Regions from separate parts of the Homo sapiens genome. Here region 2 is linked to region 1. Evidence: promoter capture Hi-C in human tissues and cell types (Jung and others, 2019). All regions are on one chromosome and are shown on one strand. Each heading gives the region's core, a stretch centred on a gene start or on the middle of the fragment in contact. The rest is flanking DNA. Distances are from core to core; before and after follow the strand shown. Region 1 holds the start of OAS1 (2'-5'-oligoadenylate synthetase 1). Region 2 has its middle 15 kb from the start of MIR1302-1.

Region 1 (4,778 bases), core at 1,614-4,113:
CATAATCTTTCTCCAGTTTCCCATTTTTACTAAAGATGAATCATGGTAAGGGAGGAGACCACCCCTCATATTGTCTTATGCCTAATTTCTGCCTCCAAAGAAAGAAGATGTAAAAACTAAAAGGCAGAAATGAAATCCACAAGCAGGTAGCCTGGTGCCACACCCTGGGCCTGGTAGTTAAAGATCGACTCCTGACCTAATAGGTTATTTGCATAAAAAAGGCACTGTGAAGATCCCTGTCCTATTCTGTTCTGTTCTAATTACTGGTGTATGCAACCCCCAGTCATGTACCCCCTGCTTGCTCAATCCATCACGACCCTCTCACATGGACCCCCTTAGAGTTGTGAGCCCTTAAAAGGGACAAGAATCGCTCACTCGGGGAGCTCAGCTCTTGAGACAGGGGTCTTGCCCATGCTCCCGGCCGAATAAACCCCTTCCTTCTTTAACTCGGTGTCTGAGGGGTTTTTGTCTGCAGCTCTTCCTGCTACAATGGTATGACTGGTTTGCTTTATCATACTTGGCCTAATTTTTTGCATACAGTGCAGCAAGAATCTTCAACTAGTAAATGAAGTGAGTATTGCAAAGACAGCACCCCACCCTCATGGTGACATTTAGTCTTAGGCCAAAGTCAACATCTTATACAGTAGGAGTGGAGAGTGTCAACTCATGAATAATCTGGTTAAGAGGTTAAGGGTTTGTAAGAAAGATAGTTGGCATTTACAAAATATTTCATCCAACAAAAACAGGAAACACATTCTTCTCAAACTCACACAGAACATTCACCAAGACATATTATGTTCTGGGCTAGAAAACACACTTTAACAAATTTCAACAGAGATATGTTATGCAAAGCATGCCCTTTACTACAATGGAATTAAAAAAGAAACCCACAAAAGAAAGATAGCTGGAAAATTCCAAAATATATGGAGATTAAAGAACACACCTCTAAATAACACATGGGGCAAGGAAGAAGTCTCAAGAGAAATTTTAAAATATTTTGGGCCAGGCTCAGTGGCTTACGCCTATAATCCTAGCACTTTGGGAGGCTGAGGCAGATGGATCGCTTGAGCCCAGGAGTTCGAGACCAGACTGGGCCACATGCAGAAACCCCATCTCTACAAAAAATACAAAAATTAGCCAGGCATGGTGGCATGTACCTGTAGTCCCAGCTACTTGGGAGGCTGAGGTGGGAGGATCACCTGAGCCCAGGAGGTCAAGGCTGCAGTGAGCTAAGATTGTGCCACTGCACCCCAGCCTGGGCAACAGAGTGAGACCCTGTCTCAACAAAATAAATAAATATATTTTGAATTAAATTAAAATGAAAAAACAGCCTATCAAAAAGTGTGGGATGTAGTGAAAGTAGTGTTTAGAGGGAAAGTTATAGCATTGAATGCATATATTAGGAGAAGAAAGATCTAACTCAGAGAGGGATGAACAGGTGAGGCATAGGGGATTTTAAGGTAGTGAAACTCTTGCAGGGCAGGGGAGCCCCAAAACTGGGACACCGTCCGGGAAGGCTCTTGGCTTCGTCCAGGAAGGAATTCAAGGGTGAGCTAGAGGAGGAAGAAAAAGGTTTATTGAGGCAGCAGGGTTACAGTTCTGTGACTGTCCCTGCAGAGCAGGGCCACCCCATAGGCAGTGCCTGGAGAGCAGCAGCTCAGGGCACTTCTATAGTCACATTCATACCCACTTTTAAATACGTGCAAATTAAGGGCAGGTTATTCAGAAATTTCTAGAAGAAGGGTGGTAACTGGGTCATTGCCAGGGAATGAGTAAACTGTTCATGGTGCTGGTGCTCATGCCAGCCAGTCTTCAATCTGGCCCTGAGTCAAGCCCCACCTCCTATCTCAAAACTATTCTGCATGGTGCTGTAATGGTGGATACATGACATGTTATGTTTGGCAAAATCCATAGAACTGTAGGACACAAGAGTGAACCTTAATGTAAACCTTAATGTAAATGGACTTTTGTTAATTATGATGTATTAATATCAATTCATCAATTGTAACAAATGTATCACAGTACTGTTAATAATAGAGGAACTTATTGGCAGGAGAGAGAGCTTATGGAACTCTCTGCACATTCAGCTCAATATTTCTGTAAGCCTAAAACTGCTGTGAGAAATAAAATCCAACCTGGGCAACATAGCAAGACCTTGTCTCTACAAAAAATAAAAAATGAGCTGGGTGCAGTAACGCATGCCTGTAGTCCCAGGTATTCAGGAGGCTGGGGCAGGAGGATCCCTTGAACCCAGGAAGTTGAGGTTGCACGAGTCATGATCATGCCCCTGCACTCCAGCCTGGATAACAAAGCAAGATCCTGTCTCCAAAAAATAATAAAATAAAATAAAAATCTACTAATTGAAAGGGAAAAAAGCATAGTATAATACCATTCTTAACAAAAAGAAAAGAGACCTGTGTTTGTGTGTGTGTTAACATTTGAAAAAAATCTGGAAAGCTCTATATCAAAACGTTTATAGAGGCAATTTTGTAGTGTTAGAATCATAGATGATCTTTCCACTTCCTGGTTTTTCTGACTTTTTTTCTTTTTGCAGTGGGCATGTATTGCTGGAAAATACCACAGACAACTGTGAAAGGATTTCATCAACAACAAAAAAAAGATAAAGAAGGAAACACAAAATCTGTTAAATAAGATTTATGTTGGCTGGAGGTTAAAATGCATTTCCAGAGCAGAGTTCAGAGAAAGGCTGGGCTGCTTGTTGCTGGCTAAAGGACAAAGGGTAAGTTTCAGGAAGCAGAAGAGTGAGCAGATGAAATTCAGCACTGGGATCAGGGGAGTGTCTGATTTGCAAAAGGAAAGTGCAAAGACAGCTCCTCCCTTCTGAGGAAACGAAACCAACAGCAGTCCAAGCTCAGTCAGCAGAAGAGATAAAAGCAAACAGGTCTGGGAGGCAGTTCTGTTGCCACTCTCTCTCCTGTCAATGATGGATCTCAGAAATACCCCAGCCAAATCTCTGGACAAGTTCATTGAAGACTATCTCTTGCCAGACACGTGTTTCCGCATGCAAATCAACCATGCCATTGACATCATCTGTGGGTTCCTGAAGGAAAGGTGCTTCCGAGGTAGCTCCTACCCTGTGTGTGTGTCCAAGGTGGTAAAGGTGAGTCCAGGCCTGCCTGGCCAGGGGAGGGGTGGCTGAATGTGCAAGAGTTGAGATTGAGAATGAGAGAGAGAGAGAGAGAGAAGCAAAAACCTAGAACCCAGGGTGCAAATGTGAGTACAGAGAGCTGAGATCTTCTGGGATGGTGGTTTCTTATTTATCCACACAGCATGTTAAAATAGATTCTGGGGTGAAATCCTACATCCCTATTATTAACAAGTGACCCTCCCCCCTACTTCCCGCTGAAGTTTATGAACCACTGTCCTGGGCGATGCCCATTTCAGAAATAGGGAACTGAATCCCAGCTCTGGTAAACAGTTTGCTAATTCGTGGCCAGGCTAGGGGCTCACCATTTCTGCAGTGAAGAATCATATGTTTTGAAAGCAAATAGCACCTGCTGGCTGCAAGACCTTGAGCAAGTCACTTAACTACTCTGTGTTCCAATTTCCTCAGCCATAATCCCCAATACTGTTGCAGTCTTGCCAGTGCACCTTAATGTAGCAGCTTCTCACTGAATTAGTACCCAAGGTTCTTTGTCCTGCATCCAAGAAAATTAAGGAACATGGACACAAACGTGAGCTTGGAGCAAAAGTTCAGTAAGCAAAAGAAGAAAGCTGTCTCCACTGTGGAGAGGGAAGTCTGAGTGGATTGCCAGATTGCAGCTGAATGCAAAAAACTTTTATAAGAAACCACTCTCCTCCCTGTAACTGTTTGAGAAACTTTTTATCAGTAAAGCTGTGCAACTTCCCTTACCTTATGCAGCTGTGGGTATATCTCTAGGCAAGCATAAAGCGCTGCTTCTCTTGTATGTATAACTGTGGATTTGTTTTAGGTAAGTCCCACTCCCTGCGCCAGTTTCAGGCAGGCCGCTCCTCCAGGGCCCAGCCTTGACCATTTACCTAACTGATTTTTCCTCTACTTTCCCTCAATACCTCATAGGGCCGTGTAGATTAAGTAAAATAGTAAGTGTGAACCACCCAGCATAAGCTAGTCCTGGGCATCGTAAAGGACAATGGGAAAAGAACACAGATCCTGGAAGAAGGCCCCCAGGTTTGAATTGTATTTGCCACCTACTAGCTGGGTGATGGGGCTGATATATTATCTCACTGAGCATCCATTTTCCCATCTGTAAAATGGGAACTAATGATAATGGCATCCAAATCATAGCATCATTGTGAGCATTATAGGAGTTTAAGACATGCAATGCCTTCAGAACAGTGGCTAGTGCTCCATAATGTTAGTGATTGCTCCTGTCATTTTATTTAGGGAGGTTTGCCTCACTAAGCATCAATTATTATTTTTGTCGTCTTTTTCAGGGTGGCTCCTCAGGCAAGGGCACCACCCTCAGAGGCCGATCTGACGCTGACCTGGTTGTCTTCCTCAGTCCTCTCACCACTTTTCAGGATCAGTTAAATCGCCGGGGAGAGTTCATCCAGGAAATTAGGAGACAGCTGGAAGCCTGTCAAAGAGAGAGAGCATTTTCCGTGAAGTTTGAGGTCCAGGCTCCACGCTGGGGCAACCCCCGTGCGCTCAGCTTCGTACTGAGTTCGCTCCAGCTCGGGGAGGGGGTGGAGTTCGATGTGCTGCCTGCCTTTGATGCCCTGGGTGAGAGCTCCCAGCTTCTTTTTCTCCCTCTTCCCATTTCTGAGCAGAAATC
Region 2 (4,855 bases), core at 1,568-4,067, 200 kb before region 1:
TTGGCTTTTAACAAGTTATAGCAATTGTGATATTCACCTTGTTTACATCATTGGGTATTTGCCATCCCAGAATGTGACTAGGCCTTTGGGGACATTTGCAGAGCAGGGAGAGATTTTATATTTATCAAGAAGTATAGCTAATCCTAACTTCATTTACTTTTCTCTTTAGGGACAGTCAAGGTGTAATGGTGCCAGGCCCATTGCCTGATGTGCAGCAAGGCAACATGCCTAGATGCTGGGTTGCAGCAGAGAAAGTCTTAGTTGTAAGGCTGCCAAGTGAGGAGATAGGAGGAAAGCTCCAATCCACCTCCATGAAGAATTTGGATCTAGAATTTTAAGGAGTTTGGATGGGTAGTGGGCCAAGGTGTTGATTGGTCAAAGAGTACGGGCTGAAGTCGTGGGACGGGAAGCTGAAGAAACCGCATTCTCATGCTGACTTAGCTCCTTGGTGGAATCTTCAGACTAGTTGGCTTCAACTGTTCTGAAAACATCTCAAACAGAAAGTCTTGGGCTCCTAACATCTATAGGAACAATGAGGAAGTTCATGGTTTATGTCACAGCCTATGTGGTCCATAAGTAGCTACAGGGAAGTAGGTCAAATGGCAACCTGATCAATGCCCTCTCTGTACCTTTATCTAAAGTCTGGCATGTAATTCTCGTTAACCCTGTGGAGATGGTGTTAACAGTGCAGTCTTCCAGGACCAGGAGGGGAAAAGGGGCACATAACCTCTTTGGGCTGTCCAGGCGGATGGCGGCATTTGCAAGGCTGCTGGGAAGAGAGATGGGGCCAGCGCTGGAATTGGCTTCAGAGGTAGTGGCTGGTCATTAATGAGATGCCAAAATGGGGGCGTACAAGGGATCAAGCAGCAAGTGTTCGTGGAGAGTCCACTGTGTGCTCAGCAAAGCGTTAGGACCAGCGTGTGGGAGGAGCTGGTGGGGAGCAAAGCAGTGGGGTTGTGGGTCCATTTGCTCCTCCAGAGGGACACCGAGTGACATCAGTGCCTCTGTAGTGATGAGCAGAGTTGCTACCTCTGTACTCTGGGAGGCAGCTTGGTTTGTGTCTGAAAGCCTTTGTTGGTGGATGAGTGTCCATGTATCTGATCTCCATGACCTCAGAGAATTATCAAGCGCCCAGGGGATCGGAGCCTCCTGCGAAAATAGAAGGACCTAAAGGTACCAGGTGAAAGGGATGGCTGGGAAGTCCCACGGGCAAGTTTTCTTTTCCTTTGTCCTTTGTTTTCTTTCTCTCCCAGATCTGGATCCTATAAAGAATGCTATAGATAGGAAAATAAATAAAAACTCTATCACAGATTTGATTTTTACTCTCATTTATTGGAGTTCAGGCATACAGGACACAGAGAAGGGAAATAAACAGCAATTATATAAGGTTTCTGTCAAAAAATTTTCTCTATTTTTATGGCAATACAACCACCAAAACCCTAAAACTCTTACTCTCTTAAAATGCAGCTCCCTTTGATGGGTGTGTATGGCAAAGGTGACAAGTGATTTTATTTTGATTTTTAAAAACAGACCTGCTAGAACATCTGCCACACTAGGTGTTGAAAAAGTGAGCTGTTTAGGTACCTGACCACTCTTAGTTCCAGTAAATACTTTTAATAATAAAAGTAGCTATTTAAAAATATTTACTCTTGGCTGGGAGAAGTGGCTCATGCCTGTAATCCCAGCACTTTGAGAGGCCAAGGTGGGAGGATTGCTTGAGGCCAGGAGTTTGAGACCAGCCTGGGTAACAAAGTGAGACCCTGTCTCTATAAAAAAATAAAAAATTACCCAGGGTTAGTGATGTGTGTCTGTAGTTCCAGCTACTCAGGAGGCTGAGGCAGGAGGATCACTTGAGCCTGGGAGTTCAAGGTTGAAGTGAGCCATGCTCACGCCACTGCACTCCAGCCTGGGTGACAGAGCGAAACCCTGTCTCAAAAAAAAAAAAAAAAATTACTCTCGTGTCAGGTGCTGTGCATGCTATGCATTGTTTATTTATTCCCCAAATGTTTATTAAGCACCTACTATGTGCCAGGCACTGTGCTATATACCAGTGATTTGAATGTGGGGTCTGGGACATCTGAAAAAATGCTGTTTAAACCAAGCTTGTAGGTTGCAGGTGGGTCATTCCAACCAAGAAACCAGGGTAGTAGAGGATCTTCCCGGCGGACAACACAGCAAGCATGAAGGTTCATTTAATCCTCACAATAACACAGTGGGGCGCTGATTATCCCCCCACTTTACAGAGGAGGAAAGTGAGGCTCAGACATGTTTAATTGTTTGCCCAAGGCCACAAAGCAGCCCAAAGCCGGAGCATCCTCCTTTTGTAGCTTCCCCAGGCCCTGTGTTCATGGCTGGTTGCCTTTTTTCTTTTTTTTTGAGACGGAGTCTTACTCTGTCGCCCAGGCTAGAGTGCAGTGGCATGATCTCGGCTCACTGCAAGCTCCGCCGCCCGGGTTCACACCATTCTCCTGCCTCAGCCTCCCGAGTAGCTGGGACTACAGGCGCCCGCCACTACGCCCGGCTAATTTTATTTGTATGTTTAGTAGAGACGGGGTTTCACCCTGTTAGCCAGGATGGTCTCGATCTCCTGACCTCGTGATCCGCCTGTCTCGGCCTCCCAAAGTGCTGGGATTACAGGCTTGAGCCACCGCGCCCGGCCTGGTTGCCTTTCTTGACCGTAGTTTCAGCGCTGAAAGTCCCACATCCCAGAACCCCGTTCTTCCTGGGCAAACTGGGACTGTTGATTTTCTTAGGTTGGAATGTTTGGCTGAGATCAAGCCAAGGAGGGTAGGAGGGGCGGTTTGAAGCTTTCAGGAGGAGAGAAGTCAGGAGGCTGCTCCTTGTACCCTGTAAAGTCCCCAGGCGGCCATTCCATGATCCCAGGCCACAGCACTCTGGCCTCTGCCAGTTCCCTTTCAGGCCCAATCATATTTGTAGTGTTGTGACACGTCCTTAAGGTCCCAGAGGCTAAAAGCAAGAGCTTCCCTAGTGTGCATAGACTCCACTTGTACATAACAAATGAGGCAGTTTTGCCTGGAGCTTAACATACAGAAGAGAAAACAAAGTGAATCCAGGTACAGTCAGCAGGAAGATATGTAAAGAAGTCATTATAAATTACATATTATGTTTCCACAGTGGGCTGCCTGATGATTCAAAAACATTACTTAAAAATCTTTCCCTTCCCTTTCTTTTCCGTTTCTGTGTATTTTTTATTACCCTTTCTTTTTGCCTTTCTCCCTTCCTTTTATCTTGAACATGAGTCTCTTATGTAACACAGCACCTAGCACATAGTAGGTGCTTAATAAATATTTGTTGAATGAATAAGTGAATGAAACAATTCAGTAGGCACTTCAGAGATGCAATAAATTAGCTTAGAATGTTATCTCCAGTTCAGAAGAACTCCAAGCAGGCAGCAACAACTATTCTTTCTTTGATCAAGAACAGCGTTTGGGAGAATTCAGATCAATTTTAGGGTAGCCGGATCCTCCTATCACAACATTTCTTTCTTGATGAGGTCTGTACACACCCTGCATCTGAATCACTCAAGGTGCTTATTAAATACTTACAGTTCTTAGGCTCATTCCTGGACCTATTGAGTCAGAACAGTGGCAGGGGCAGGGATTTGCATTTCTAATAAGCTCCCGGAGTGTTTCTTGTGCATACCCAAACTGCCCTATATAAGCATAGTTTGTTCACTTTGATCATTTGTGCTGCAATCCTGGGCCTCCCTCCTCCTTTCTGCTAAAAGTTTATTTGTTTCTTCCTTAAAGCCTTGAGAAGAAAAAAAAAAGAGCACATCTCTTTGGGGACGACTTTCAGTTGAAAAGAACTGACAAAAAGTTGAAATGATAGCAATGCAATATAATTTTCTCATTCTCCCTCTGTTCTTGCAGTGTGTTGCATTACTTGGCATAGATGTTTTCTGGGGGGTATAAGCTAATGGAATTTACTCAAGCACTTCAGAAACGAGTGGTGTGTTTTATATTTCTAATAAAGCTTTCCTTTCCTTGTGGTTGCAATGGCCACGAATTTGCTTCACTGGACTTCAGGTTGTTAACCAATGACAAATGACTGCTCTTCTGGGCATCTCATTGGGCGGGCTCTGTTATCCAGTGCAGGTAGGAGGAGTGATAACCCATACTGCTTGCTGGGGAGAATGCTGCATCTGTCCACTTTTTGCTGCAATCTCTCTTTCCTCGTTCCTTGTTCTCTGTACAATTTTTTTCTTTTTTTGAGACAGAGTTTTGTTCTTGTTGCCCAGGCTGGAGTGCAATGGTGCGATCTCAGCTCACTACAACCTCTGCCTCCCGGGTTCAAGCAATTCTCCTGCCTCAGCCTCCAGAGTAGCTGGGATTACAGGCATGCACCTCCATACCTGGCTAATTTTGTATTTTTAGTAGAGATGGGGTTTCTCCATGTTGGTCAGGTTGGTCTCAAACTCCTGACCTCAGGTGATCTGCCCTCCTCAGCCTCCCAAAGTACTGGGATTTCAGGGGTGAGCCACCATGCCCGGCCTCTGTACATTTTAGTTCTTAGGTTAATTTTGGTTCTGTCATCTGAATGCTGTATTTAATTGGAGTTAAAGAAAACACACACACGCATGCACGCACGCAGGCACGCACGTAATCCACCCAGACCAACATTTTCTATTCTTCATTATTCATAAGTAAGATTTATTAGAAAGGTTGATTTGGATGAATTGATGTGTTATAGATCTAGATTCTGTTATGAACATAGGAAACTGTCCCTTTGTAGGTCAAAAAATGGTCCAACGTTGGCAATTTCTTATGTTTCAATCTAATAGAAACCGCATAAATTATCCAGATGTCTATTTTTAAATTGTTATTTTAAATAT

What was found. Contacts are between HindIII fragments. The study calls those that stand out against the background at their distance.
Region 2: a contact is called between a fragment that was not itself captured here and the fragment with the promoter of OAS1 in region 1, in 4 of the 25 tissues and cell types used here (heart left ventricle, liver, mesendoderm cells and 1 more).

Annotation. Positions count from the first base shown.
Region 1 is chr12:112,904,099-112,908,876 of GRCh38, forward strand. It overlaps OAS1 (2'-5'-oligoadenylate synthetase 1), which reads left to right and starts at 2,864. Exons shown (of 6, transcript NM_016816.4): 1 at 2,864-3,121; 2 at 4,438-4,726. The coding sequence starts at 2,942. RefSeq lists an enhancer at 2,705-3,144. The HindIII fragment of the contact is 21,386 bases long and covers 1-4,778 here.
Region 2 is chr12:112,707,617-112,712,471 of GRCh38, forward strand. It overlaps a transcript of RPH3A not described here. Among named protein-coding and RNA genes, the nearest start is that of MIR1302-1, 15 kb to the left of the region's middle. RefSeq lists an enhancer at 2,548-3,048. The HindIII fragment of the contact is 4,247 bases long and covers 695-4,855 here.